Linked DNA regions of Homo sapiens: region 1 is linked to region 2. Evidence: promoter capture Hi-C in human tissues and cell types (Jung and others, 2019). All regions are on one chromosome and are shown on one strand. Each heading gives the region's core, a stretch centred on a gene start or on the middle of the fragment in contact. The rest is flanking DNA. Distances are from core to core; before and after follow the strand shown.

What was found. Contacts are between HindIII fragments. The study calls those that stand out against the background at their distance.
Region 1: a contact is called between a fragment that was not itself captured here and the fragment with the promoter of ULK4 in region 2, in 1 of the 25 tissues and cell types used here (dorsolateral prefrontal cortex).

Annotation. Positions count from the first base shown.
Region 1 is chr3:40,583,278-40,590,181 of GRCh38, reverse strand. It overlaps the pseudogene RPL5P10. Among named protein-coding and RNA genes, the nearest start is that of ZNF621, 62 kb to the right of the region's middle. RefSeq lists an enhancer at 5,724-6,224. The HindIII fragment of the contact is 5,809 bases long and covers 1-4,501 here.
Region 2 is chr3:41,960,246-41,966,928 of GRCh38, reverse strand. It overlaps ULK4 (unc-51 like kinase 4), which reads left to right and starts at 4,826. Exons shown (of 37, transcript NM_017886.4): 1 at 4,826-4,913. RefSeq lists enhancers at 4,497-4,546, 4,697-4,856. The HindIII fragment of the contact is 18,707 bases long and covers 1-6,683 here.

The DNA of each region.
Region 1 (6,904 bases), core at 348-2,847, 1.4 Mb after region 2:
CTTTCTGCCATTTTCAAAGGAAAAGCATCCTGATTAATATTAATATATGTAAAACTTCCACTCAATGAGAGGTCGTCCTATTTAACCCTAGAATGTTTCTGGGATAAAATATCCATGGATTGCTTCCTAAATCTACTCCCATCCCAGATATGACACCATCGTGGTACAGGAAAAACCTCCACCAATATCTTTTGTGCCCTGCACCCACACTGATCACAGCCAGCTTGATCATCATTGAGACCCCCTAGACTGGTAGAAGCAGCCAACCCTGAAGCTTTCCAGAGTCAGTGGGTACTCCAGGAAACCAGCATCACCTTTATAGCTTCCTGCTCCATTTAATGTCCTGTGACCCAGTCACTGCTCTAAGCTAGGGTAACCACCTGCAGTAACCACAGTGGGCTACCAGCATGCTCAGAGGGCTCTTGGTAGCTGCCCAGAGCTCATATCTTCAATATGCCTCAGAAGAGGCAGAAACCTCCTGCCAAGGGAGCCAGGGAAACACTGGCCCCCAATCCTCCTATGGCAAAGGTCTGAGGGGCAGGGGCCAGGAATCCAAGCTGTAGCCATAACAATTCTCTCCCTCCCACCAGAGAAGGATGCCTGGGACAGAGGGAGGAAGTGCAGTACATGTGTCGTCTCCTACAAGTTTGCTGCAAGGTGATAAATATCTTTTGTTTCTATTGTGAATGAGATCTTTCTTTTCCATTATTTTTTTCTAAGTGGCTACTGTTGGAAATAGGAAAGCTATTGATTTTTGTACGTTTATTTTGTAACTTGCTACCTTACTGAACTCTCATTATTTCTAATAATTTTTCAGGTCAATTCTCCCAAAGGAAAAAAAAAGTTTAGGCGATGTGACAAAACTCATAAAAATGCATGAAATCAGCCACCACCATTCAATTTGTTCTAAGATGTGTATAAAATCAAGGTAGAAATAAAATTCCACCTGTGCTACATGCAAACCATCTGTTCCCACCCACTCCACTGTCCTCCACCGAAAGGCTACTCCCCTGTGTTGAGAGGAAAGTCTTTGAGATCCAAACACAGAAAAGTCCTTTGCTGGAGTCAAATGGCCAAACTTCCCCCATTCCTAGACTGTCAGGACCAGAGTGGATTCCCAAGCTGTGAGGAGAAGCCCAGGACAGAGGCTAGCTCTCTAAAACCTGACCCCAGCGTGCTATCCATCACTCCAGCCCCCTGCAGGCATCCAGTCACCCACTCTACCAGAAGTCTTCAAGCCTAACTGAGCACCTACTGTGTGCCAGGTTTGGGAATGCAAGAATACAAAAGGTCTAGTCCCTTCTTCAGACAACTTTCAAACACAGAACCTTCCCACAGATGTGCCAAATTTTGTTTTATCGGAATAAGCCTAGACAGTCTTCGATATACCCTTTATTATTGACTTTTCTTTGTGGGATGTGGCAACACAGTCAACACTCTACCCAGACACCCACTAAGTCCTTTTACAGTTGCTGTGTGTTGCTCTCCTGGCCTCTGTGGGATCTTGTTTCTGCTGCCTACACCTGCAACTCCTGTTAGAGGACTGCCCTCAGGTGGCTAGAGCTAGTTTGCCCACACCTGCAGAGATTGGAAATGCCTGGGAGCCAACATCCCCGCAAGGCAGCCCCAGGCCAGTGATTGACAGATGCAGGTGCGTCAGATTCCAAGATGTAACTCACACTTCAGAGCTCCCCTGAAGGATCAGGAGGAAGCTACCCCTGCAGGACTTCACTCTATCTCTCCCCCCGCCCTGCCTCGACTCCCTTACCAATCTCCCAAGGAGCGCTTCCTCAATGCATCACTTTCTCATAAGTCTTCCTCTCAGGAAGACACAGAGCAAACCTCTGACCTCCATTGCTATAGTTTTCCATCTGTCAGGTCAGCATAATTAGAAAGTCTCCTGAGAAAAAGATTAGAGTTCTATTATGAGTTAAATTGTGTTCCCCCAAAATTCATATGTTAAAGTCCTAATCCCTCAATGTGATTATATTTGGAGACAGAGCCCATAAGGAAGTAATTAAGGCAAGGTGGGGTCACAAGGAAGGGACCCCGATCCAATAGGATTAGTGTTCTTATAAGGAAAGACACCAACAGCTCACATGCTGGCTTGTGTTCTCTCTCTCTCTCTCTTTCTCTCTGTCTCTCTCTCTCTCTCTCTCTCTGCATGCACAAAGAAGAGGCCATGTGAGGAAGGACACAGCAAGATGGTGTCCACTACAAGCCAAGAGAAAAGGCCACAGGATGAAACCTACCTTGCCAGTACCTTGATCATGGGCTTTTGGCCTCCATAGTTGTGAGAAATAAATGTCAGTTGTTTAAGCCATCCAGTCGATGAATTTTATAAGGCAGCCCAAGCTAATACAGATTCCTTCACCTGCTCTATGGCTTGGATCCTGGAAGAGCCTCCTCAGTTGTATTCAAGTCACCAAGATCTTGTTCCACAAAATAAAATTCCTGTGGCTCTGAGGACAAGTCTGCCTCACCCTATGAAAGATAAAATAAAATTGAAGCCATAGACCAGATGTTGGCAAACTTTTCCTGTAAAGGGCCAGGTAGTAAATATCTTAGGCTATGCAGGTACATGGTCTCTGTGGTAACTACTCAATTCTGCATTGTAGTGCAAAAGCAGCCACAGACCTGATTTGTAAACGAATGAGTGTGGCTGGGTTCCAATAAAACTTTATTTAGAAAAGCAGACCTCTGAGGCCTGTAGGTATGTTGAGCTGTGAACATGGGTCTCTGTTCTACAGGAGGGGTTTGCTAAAGTTGTCAAAAACAAGGCCTGCTTTAAGAGAAACCAAGTGAAATTCAGAAAATGATAGAAGCGTAAAAACTGAAGATTATACTTGGAAACGCTTGGTGATACTGTATAAAAATAAGTACAACACACCCAAATACAGGATGATAGTTTGGTGACAAACAGAGATATCATTTGTCAGATTGCTTATGCCTGTATAGGAGGGGATATGATAGTCTGCACAGCTTAAGCATATGAACTGCCAAAATATGGTGTGAAGGTTGGCCTGACACATTATGCTACAGCATATTGTACTGGCTTGCTGCTGGCCTGCAGGCTTCTCAGTAAGTCTGGCATGGTCAAGATTTATGAAGGCCAAGTGGAGGTGACCAGAGATGAACACAACGTGGAAAACATTGATGGTCAGCTGGGTGATTTTACCTGCTATTTGAAGGCAGGCCTTGCCAGAACCACCACTAGTAATAAAGTTTTGGGGGCTCTGAAGGGGGCTGTGAATGGAGGCCTCTCCATCTCTCACAGTACACAATAACAGATTCCCTGCTTATGATTCTGAAAGCAAGGCATCTAATGCAGAAGTACATAGGAAGCACATCATGGGTCAGAATGTTGCAGATTACATGCATTACCTAATGGAAGAAGCTGAAGATCTTACAAGAAACAGTTTTCTCAATACATAAAGAACAGCATAACTCCATACATGATGGAGGAGATGTGTAAGAAAGCCCACGTTGCTATATGAGAGAATCCAGGTTATGAAAAGAAGCCCAAGAAAGAAGCTAAAGAGAAAAAGTGGAATTGTCCCAAAACGTCTCTTGCCCAGAAGAAACACTGGGTAGCTCAAAAGAAGGCAAGCTTCATCAGAGCTTGAGAACAGGCTGCTGAGAGCTAAACCAAGAAATTTTCTATGAGAATTTTTCAGATAAAGACAATAAATTTATTGACTAAGCTGCTAAAAGAGAAAAAGAAGGAAAGAAAAGCAGACTTCTCCAGGCAATTGTTTCCTGACCCCTACTACAAACTCTTTGACTTGGAAGGGAGTTGAGCAAACCTCAAATCCACCCCAGATTGTGAAGACAAGGACAAGCGCAGATGGTGGATGGGACTCCCCAGGGTCTCCCAGGGAGTTCATGGCAGTCAGACTAGAAATGGATACCTCTTCTCCTCGTTTCTCTTCTGTTGTTCAGAACTAAAGCTTAAGCGGGTGGGGCTGAATCGTAAAGGCTTCTGTGAATGTTGGTAATAGAGGGTGAAATGATGCTGCAGGAGGGGAAGGGAAGGACAAAAGTCAGCAAAAAGCCAGGTATTGAGACAGCCATCACCTGAGGATCTGCCTCCCAATGGGCAAGTCTGCCCCTCAAAGACTATGAGGCAGTGATGATACTGACCCCTGAACTCCAGGACCCCATTGTTCTTCAAAGGAAGATGCAAGGCTGGCCCCTCCCCCAGCTGCTGAAGACCATGCTGAGGGGCCCAAGGGAAGAGGAGGCCAGTGGCTGAGCATTGTAGAGCAGTGGGTAGGGAGGGACCTTTGGTCTGCACCAACAATGTGACTGTAACGCTCACTTGCACAAGTGTGACTCAATTCATGCTCTCATGAAACTGTGCTTTAGGCATGAAGCTGGGGGCCTATTTTGAGACATCAGCTGCACAAACTTTAACCTGTGGCTTTATACTGAGAGAGGTAGTGTAGGGCTTGCAGCCTCTGGTCCCAGGAGAAGATAAAGGAGACTCGAGCAGTTGTCAGAACCTATGGTGCTCTCTCTCTCTCTCGTTACCTCTCGCTCTCTCTTGCTCTCTGTCTCCATTTGTTGCCACAGACCACCGGGCTCAGATGAGAGTCTCTCAACAGATGCAGGGAAGAGAGCAGCTGTTCACGGCAGTGGCCCTCCTAGTGCTTTGAGACTCCTCACAGCCCCACAAGGTTCCTTTGGGCCCTCTCAGAAGTCTGGCCACCCAGCATGAAAATCTCCCAAGTCAGAGCCTCAAGTTTTAAAGAAAGAAATTTACAGATGTGCAAAGAGAAAAGAAAAGGGGCTGTTTGGTCCCTAGCAGAGGACCGATTTTATTGGGAATTGTTTGACCAAGGAAACATGAACCAAACATACCACCAAGGAAAACATACTGCCAAGGAAAAATGAACCAAACATACCACCAGCACCCTAGAAACAGACTTTTTTTAATCTTCGTATCAACAAGATTTCGGCCTTCAATCATCTCAAATTAAATGGAACCTAAGCAGCAGGAGTTACTGTAGTTACGTAGGGGAAAGACAGGAGACAGGGGAAAAAAAAAGCTTTGCATCACGTGACTTTTATGCTGCAGAAACTTAATGAGAAACACACCACATTTCCAGAACCCTCTTTCTAGTCAGGGCTCCCGCTGAGATAAAAGGTCACAAGAAGAGAAGGAGGGAGAGGGAGGGAGCGCCGGCGTGGAGCAGGGAGGCACTTTTACTGCAAAGTCGGGCCCAAATTTCATACAAGCTGCTATCGGGTCTGATAGTCTAGACTGATTATCTTCTTTGAATGCCAGATGTGAAGGGCTTGTATAAAAGAACTGCAAACATTACCCATTTAAAAACAAATCGACCCAAGCTGCATTCACTGCGCAAAGGAGAACTTTCCATCCCAGACTCTGCAGAGAGAGCCAAGCAGCCGGGCCAGGAGACCTGGCCTAGGCGGTGCGTCCCGCTGCTGCCCCCTGCAGGCCATGAGCCTCAGGCTGGCCAGAAAGCAAGCCAAGTCCGGGGGCCAATGGCTCAGCCAGGCCTCTGCTCATCAGTGGAGACTTTTTCTGTCCATCCAGCTCAGGGTGGCAGGAGAATGCTCCTCTACAAGGTGCCAGGCTATAGCTGGAAGACTGAGCTGGGCCTGGGCCTCAGCGTTACACATTGTCCCGTTCAACCATTAACCCTGCAAGGTAGAGACGTCAATCCCTTTCACAGGTGAAAAATTGAGAAGTTAAGAGATTTACCCATTGGATGCAACTGGCTTATCCAGTTTTGGTATTGGACACTGGTGCTCCTTCCATGGCCCTATGTGCGGTTGGCCATCAACACCAAGATCCTCTCCTCAGGGAAGATGGAATGATAGAACTGCAGCTCCAGTACCCAAACTGGACCATACCAGCCCAGAAGACACCCGGCCCATAGGGCCAAGCTAGGAGTAGGGCGGCAGGAGGTATCTTCCCATCCCTCAAGCTGGGTGTGGTCCTGGATCAGGGGTCTTTACCCCTGCTGGGCAGTTAGGAGAGGCTTCTTGATCCCAGGCCCCTGCAGAGTACCAGGCCCTGAGCCAGGGCTCAGGAAAATTTGTAGAGCGAGAAACATCCTGATCACACTATGGCCTCTGGAATCTCCTGATGGCCCTGCATTTCTCCACCAGCCCTGGCCGCTTTGGGTTGTGTCTCCGCACACAGGGACTGACTCTGTAAACACCATGCCAACATAACCTCTGACCAGGCACTTCCCATTTGGCCGCAGCTACAACTCAGTGCCAGACACTCAGGATCAGTGACCTTCAGAGGGGGCTGGGCATGCAAGGGCCTTCCAAGTGATCTGTGTTTAATCTAGTGTGAAGGACCTCCAGCCTTGCTGCTACAGGCAAGGCCAGCGCTCATCTGGGCCCTCTGGCCTGCCTAGTCCTGGCTGTCACAGGAACGACCAGACACTCCTGAGGGCGTTTGGTTTTCTGCCAGCGTTGTTAGTTTAAGACTCTGTAGTGTACCTTTGGGTTTTCCTTCCTTTTCTGAACCCTCCTAAGTGGCCCACTTACCTCTCAAGCAAGGCAAAGCTGCTTTGCTGTCTTCCACCTCTGGAGTTTTTTTTGTTTTTTGTTTTTTGTTTTTAAGACAGAATCTCATTCTGTCACCCAGGCTGGAGTGCAGTGGCGCAACCTCAGCTCACTGCAACCTCTGCCTCCCAGGTTCAAGAGATTCTCCTGCCTCAGTCTCCCAAGTAGCTGGGATTATAGGCATGTGCCACCATGCCCAGGTAATTTTTGTATTTTTAGTAGAAACGGGGTTTCACCATATTAGTCAGGCTGGTCTTGAACTCCTGACCTGAGGTGATCCACCCGCCTCGGCCTCCCAAAGTTCTGAGATTACAGGCGTGAGCCACCGTGCCCAGCCCCACCTCTGTGATTTTGC
Region 2 (6,683 bases), core at 3,577-6,076:
AATGGCTACTCCATAGGCAGAGCAGCAGCTTGGGCTGCTGGACTGATAATTGCCCACCCTCCCTTCCTTCCTTCCTTCCTTTTTTTTTGAGGCAGAGTATCACTCTGTTATCCAGGCTGGAGTGCTGTGGTGCCATCTTGGCTCACTGCAACCTCAGCCCCCCACCCAGTCCGGGTTCAAGCAGTTCTCCCACCTCACCTTCCCAAGTAGCTGGGATTACAGGTGCATGCCACCGTGCCCGGCTAATTTTTGTATTTTTAGTCGAGACGGAGTTTCACCATTTTGGCCATTCTGGTCTTAAACTCCTGATCTCAAGTGATCTGCCCGCCTTGGCCTCTCAAAGTCCTGGGATTACAGGCGTCAGCCACCATGCCTAGCCTATTTCTTGACATATGCTATACAAGGGGTGGATTATTCCTAAGTTTTCCGCAAAAGGGGTGGGCAATTCCCAGAACTGAGGGTACCTCCCGCTTCTAGACCATATAGGGTAACTTCCTGATGTTGCCATGGCATTTGTAAATTGTCATGGCACTGGTGGGAGTGTCTCTTATCATGCTAATGCATTTAATTAGCATATAATGGGCAGTGAGGATGACCAGAGGCCACTTTTGTCACCATCTTGGTTTTGGTGGGTTTTGGCTGGCTTCTTTACTGCAACCTGTTTTATCAGCAAGGTCTTTTGACCTCTAGCTTGTGCCGACCTCCTCTCTCATCCCGTGATTAAGAATGTCTATCCACCTGGGAATGCAGCCCAGAAGGTCTCAGCCTTATTTTACCCAGCCCCTATTCGAGATGGAGTCACTCTGGTTCGCATTTCTCTGACAGAAGCATCCAAGGAACTTAGGCTAAGAAGACCCAGGATCTGATATTGCTTCTGACATGAACTTTTAGGTTATTTATAAAAACTCAGAATAAACAAAATATTTCAAAGTTTTAATCTTCATTAATTTGACAGTAGTCCAGGAGGAGACGTTTTCCCTACCAAACCTGTTAAATACACAGAACTGACAATAATGGATGCTGAGACTCTTGAGAAGGCAGGAAGGGTCAGAAGTAAAAGGAGATGTGATTTACCTGAGATCAGAACAGTTTTTCTAGATGGTTGTTTGAAAAGTGTGGTGCTCAACTTGCAACATTGACATCACCTGGTAAGTTGATAGAAATGCAAAATTTTAGGCCCCATTGAGATACAGAATCAGAAGTTTTGTAGGTGGAGCCAGAAATCTATGTTTTAACAAGAGCTCCAGGTGATTCTGATGGTAAAGTTTGCAAACCACTTTTGCATTGAAGGATGCTGAAGAGGGGAGCTGGTTCATTTTCTCACCTCTGGATGATCATAAAGAATCTGTCAGCCGGGCGCGGTGGCTCACACCTGTAATCTCAGCACTTTGGGAGGCCGAGGCGGGCAGATCACCTGAGGTCGGGAGTTCAAGACCAGCCTGACTAACATGGAGAAACCCCTGTCTCTAGAGTGTAGCTAGGTTAGCACTCTAGCCTGCGCAACAAGAGCTAAACTCTGTCTCCAAAAAAAAAGAATCTCTCATTCAAGCACATAGAAACTTCCTTCTTTAGGCAAAGCATTGCATTAAATGCTGCAGAAAAGAAATTTATTTTTTACTTCATACAAAGAGGCATTAAATAATAACAATGCATGTAAAGTTAGCAAAAAATAAAATTTCTTTTTAAATTTCCTTTTTACAGACAGGATTTTGCGCTGTTGCTCGGGCTGGAGTACAGGCTCCAGTGTATCTGGTGGTTGAAACTTGCAAGTGTGGAGCTTTGAAAGCCGTAAGTGATGGTTGACAAAAAGAGTTAAACTCTGTAAAATATTTAAAGAGATTTATTCTGAGCCAAATCTGAGTGACCATGGCTCGAGGCACAGTCTCAAGAGGCCCTAGGAACATATGGCTAATGTCTCACGTGTCCGTGTGAAGAGACCACCAAACAGGCTTCGTGTGAGCAACAAGGCTGTTTATTTCACCTGGGTGCAGGTGGGCTGAGTTTGAAAAGAGAGTCAGCAGCGGGTGGTGGGATTATCGTCAGTTCTTATAGGTTTTGGGATAGGCGGTGGAGTCAGGAACAATGTTTTGCGGGCAGAGGATGGATCTCACAAAGTACATTTTCAAGGGTGGGGAGAATTACAAAGAACCTTCTTAAGGGTGGGGGAGATTACAAAGTAAATTGATCAGGTAGGGTGGGGCAGAAACAAATCACAATGGTGGAATGTCATCAGTTAAGGCTATTTTCACATCTTTTGTGGATCTTCAGTTGCTTCATGCCATCTGGATGTATACGTGCAGGTCACAGGGGATATGATGGCTTAGCTTAGGCTCAGAGGCCTGACAGCTAAGGTGACTGAGCTGCAGCTCGGTTTTACATGTTTTACGGAGAAATAAGACATCAATCAATACATGACATAAGGTATTGGTTGGGTCAGGAAAGGTGGGACAACTCGAAGCTGGAAAGAGCTTCTACATCATAGGGTGGATTTAATAGGTGATTGGTGTTATGCCACGACTACGCCAATTGTCAGGTTCCAGCCCCCAGCTGAGGTCCAAGGGGAGTGGGTGGATGGGCGAATAACTGAAAGAACACAAGGAGGGTTGGGGGCGTGTAGGCAAGTGAAATGTAGTTTTATTCAGCGGCTGTGTCATCAGCAGCTTAATCACACTAGCTCTCTCACACTGTCCACCTTTATCTCGGCTGTCTGTTCTGGCTCTGTGGCTCCTGTTGCCCCCATGCCTGCAGCTGCACACCCTGGCCTGCAAAGCCAGCTCTGTCAGGGTCAGCAGCTTAACTCTCCCTCTGGGCACAAGCTGGTTCCTGGCTCGGCTCCCCTCTGCCCACCTTAAGGGCAACCGCTCTCCCTTAGAGGGGTTAGTAGCATTACTCTGGGCACCAGTGCACGAACCGGGTCGTGTCGTGCTGAACTCAGACCTGGGCACAGTGTCAGCAGGGCAGTTATACCTTCTACAGACAATAGTGGCTCAGATCCAAGTATGAACTTACATAAACGGGTTACATAACAAGTGGAATATGCGCCTGTGTCCTAAACTCGCTGAGCCACTCTGGCCCGGATGTCCACCTTGGCCTATTCCTTGACCAAAGCACATCCATATACCCTACAATTGGCAATTGGTTAAAAGAGTTATTATATAAAGACCTGGAGCCAATAGAAGGCAGTGTCTGGGTTGAGATAAGAGGTTGCAGAGACCAGGGTTCTTGTTCTGCAGATGAAGCCTCTATGTAGCAGGTTTCAGAGAGAATAGATTGTAAATGTTTCTTATCAGACTTAAAACAGGTGTCAGGTTCTCAGTTAATTCTCTCCAGCATCAGGGAAAAGACCTGGAAAGACAAGGGGATTCTTTACAGAATGTAGATTCCCCCCAGAAGAGATAGCTCTGCAAGGCCATTTCAAAATATGTCAAATAAATATATTTGGCCAGGCACGGTGGCTCACACCTGTAATCCCAGCACTTTGGGAGGCCAAGGCGGGTGGATCACCTGAGGTCAGGAGTTCAAGATGAGCTTGGCCAACACAGTGAAACCCTGTCTCTACTAAAAATACAAAAATTAGCTGGTGTGGTGGCACACGCCTGTAATCCCAGCTACTTGGGAGGCTGAGGCAGGAGAATCACTTGAACCCAGGAGGTGGAGGTTGCAGTGAGCCGAGATTGCGCCACTGCCCTCTAGTCTGTGTGATGCAGCGAGACTGTCTCAAAAAAAATATATATATATATACGTATATGAGTATATATGTATACATAAGAGTATATGTGTGTGTGTGTTTGTCTATGTGTGTGTATATATATATCAGGATAAAATACTTCAATGTCTTTTGGGGCCTGCTGCCATGTTGGTATCTTATTGCTGCAAAAAAGTCTGTTTTGTCAGTCTTAAGGTCTCTGTTTAATGTTAACGCTGGTCAGCTGTGCCTGTATTCCAACGGGAGGAGGGTATAATGAGGCCTGTCCCACCCCATCTTCCCATCATTGCCTGAGCTAGTTCTTCAGGTTAACTTTGGCGTGCCTTTGGCCCAGAGGAGGGATCCACTCAGTTGGTAGGGGGGCTTGGAACTTTTATTTTTAGTTTACACAATCAACTTGAGATCAGAGTGTCTCATCTGTTTCCTCCATCTCCAAAAAGGAAGGTAATTCACAGCCTTCTCTTTTCTAAATGGTGAGGACCCCGGGGCCCCTGCTTCTGAGGCGTTGGTTATCCAGACTATGCCACCATGTCTACCTGAGCTCCCAGAAGAAGCCAGAAAGAAAAGAATGGAAGGAAACAGAAGGACAGTGGGAACGGGAAGAGAAGAAATGACGAGGTCTCAGTTCTCCACACTCTAGCCTCAGCACCCACTTAAGATTGAAGAGTAGTCCCTCACGGGCTCCCACTTCGGACTCTGGCCAATAGGAACTGAGACTCTTAACCAATCAGCGCTTTGCGTTTTTCCAGCGTTCTGCGTGCTGCCATGGAGATGGAATGAGCAAATCCAAACATAGAGGGATGGTGGGCCGACCACTATGACTGTTACTCCAGCACTTCCCGCCCCAGTCTCTGGCCTGTGGGCTCGTCCAAAGGCAGGGCGTGATGCCCTTTGGGTGGAGGGAGGGGCCCTCGTGGTCTCTCACTTCCGGGCCCCAGCCAACAGGAACGGAAACTGCACAGCCAGTCGGCTTCCTGAGCTTCTTCCGGCGTTCTGTGTGCTGCCGTGGAAACCGTATGGACGAATCCAAACCTGGAGGGGCGTCGCCTCCGTAAGGCTGGTCGGCTTCTTCCGCGCGTTCCGCTTTGCTTCACTGCTTTCTCCCCCATTCTTGGGCCTGTGGACCTGTCCTGAGGCAGAGGCCGAGATGCGCGCAACCGCGGGAGCAGCCAAGTGGACTGGACTCTTTTCTTGACTTAGCTACCAGGTGCGTGGCAGTGGCGGTTTTAGTAGCTACGAGTCTGAGTTCGTGTCTGCCTAAGCGGTCGCGGAAGAGCGCGCAGGCCTGCCGGGGCGGGTGGGTGGTGGCGCCTGGCCGCCCTCTCTCCTTCTGCCAGTGGACCCCGTACCCCCTGCGCTCCCCTGCTTTGCGCTCGTGTTAAAAAAGCCGCCCGTTTTTATCCGGGCGTTAGTTAAGGGCACACGGGACGCCTCTTCTAGGACCTGGGTGCAGCGGGGAGAGAGAGTGCTTGTGTGTTTCGGCTTGGGAGATGTGCTTTATGGACGCCATCTCTTAACTTCCCAGAGCGGACCGCGTCTTCACCGCCCTGCAGCGCTTCCTAGGCTCCCAGCCGGTCTCGCGGACTGATGCCTACGGACGTAGCGAGGCCGCGAAAGCCGCCGATTCGCCCGCCGCGAGTTGCCTGGGGAGCGGGGGGGGGGGGGGGGGGGGTGAGTGACTACGTAGCGCCCCTGAGTCTGTGATAATTGAGTCTGTGAAGTGCGGCGAGGAGGAGCACCTATGGAGTGCTTAGTGTGGCGCGCGCCATCGGTTACATCTCGGGGTTGATTTGGCTGGCATTTCGCAGACTTGAGCGCATCCCAGTCACCCCAGGGCGTGTAGTAACACAGAAGGCCAGGCCCTACCGCCGTAGTGTATGATTCCGTAAATTTGGGGCAGGGCCGATAACTTTTTCTTTTGTATTAAGTCCCAGGTGATGCTCATGCTTCTGGTGCGGGAGTCATGATTGTGCTGAAAGTGGGCACCTGTGCGCTCTTATCACCTGTTCGCTCTCAGCGTTCCTTGAATGTAGGACCTGCCCCCGACTCTTAAATGCCTCATTTGCACCTGTATGTGATTTGCTCTGCCTTCTGGCTTCTTAGATGCTTCTTAGGTGAACTTGTGAATTAAGAGAGACTTCCTTAGGAGCACTATAGGTTAAGAGACTAAACTGTGGTTTCTGGGAAAGCACACTCGAGTGAGAAAACCATGAAGAAACCTAAGGAAGTGATGACTACGAAAGTCAGGGGGTGGTTAACTTTTGGGGATCAGGAGGGGTGGTGATTGAGACAGGCTCACAGAGGGGCTGCTTGTGTGGCTGGCAAAGTCCTATTTCCTGACTTTGGGTGGTGATTAGAAGGGTGTCCCTCTTTAGTAATTCATTAAACTATGTATTCTGTGGAGTTTTCTGTACTTGTGTTTTATTTTATAATTAAGAGGTTACAGCTTTAAAAATGAATATTAGGAAGTCTGTAATGGGGAACGTGTTTGGACTGAGTCAAAGAATCTTAAAGTCATGGAATTTCAACTATTAATAAGTTATTGAAAGATAACTTAGTGCCAGGCGCGGTGGCTCACACCTGTAATCCTAGCACTTTGGAAGGCCGAGGCAGGCGGATCACTTGAGGCCAGGAGTTCTAGACCAGCCTGGGCAACATAGTGAAACTCCATATCTACCAAAAACACAAAAAATTAACTGGGTGTGGTGGTGTGCCAGAGGCTGAGGTGGCTACTCTGGAGGCTGAGGCACGAGAATCGTTTGAACCCTGGAGGTGGAGGTTGCAGTGAGCCTAGATCTTGCCCCTGCACACCAGCCTGGGCCACTGAGTGAGACCCTGTCCAAAAAAAAAAAAGAAAATCATTTGATCCAATTCTTATTTTACTCTAAGGAAACAGCCTTAGAGAGGAGAAATGCTTGAAAGTAACAAACCACCCTATCTAAGCAGATTTATAACTAATGTGTTTTGTTAATTTCAG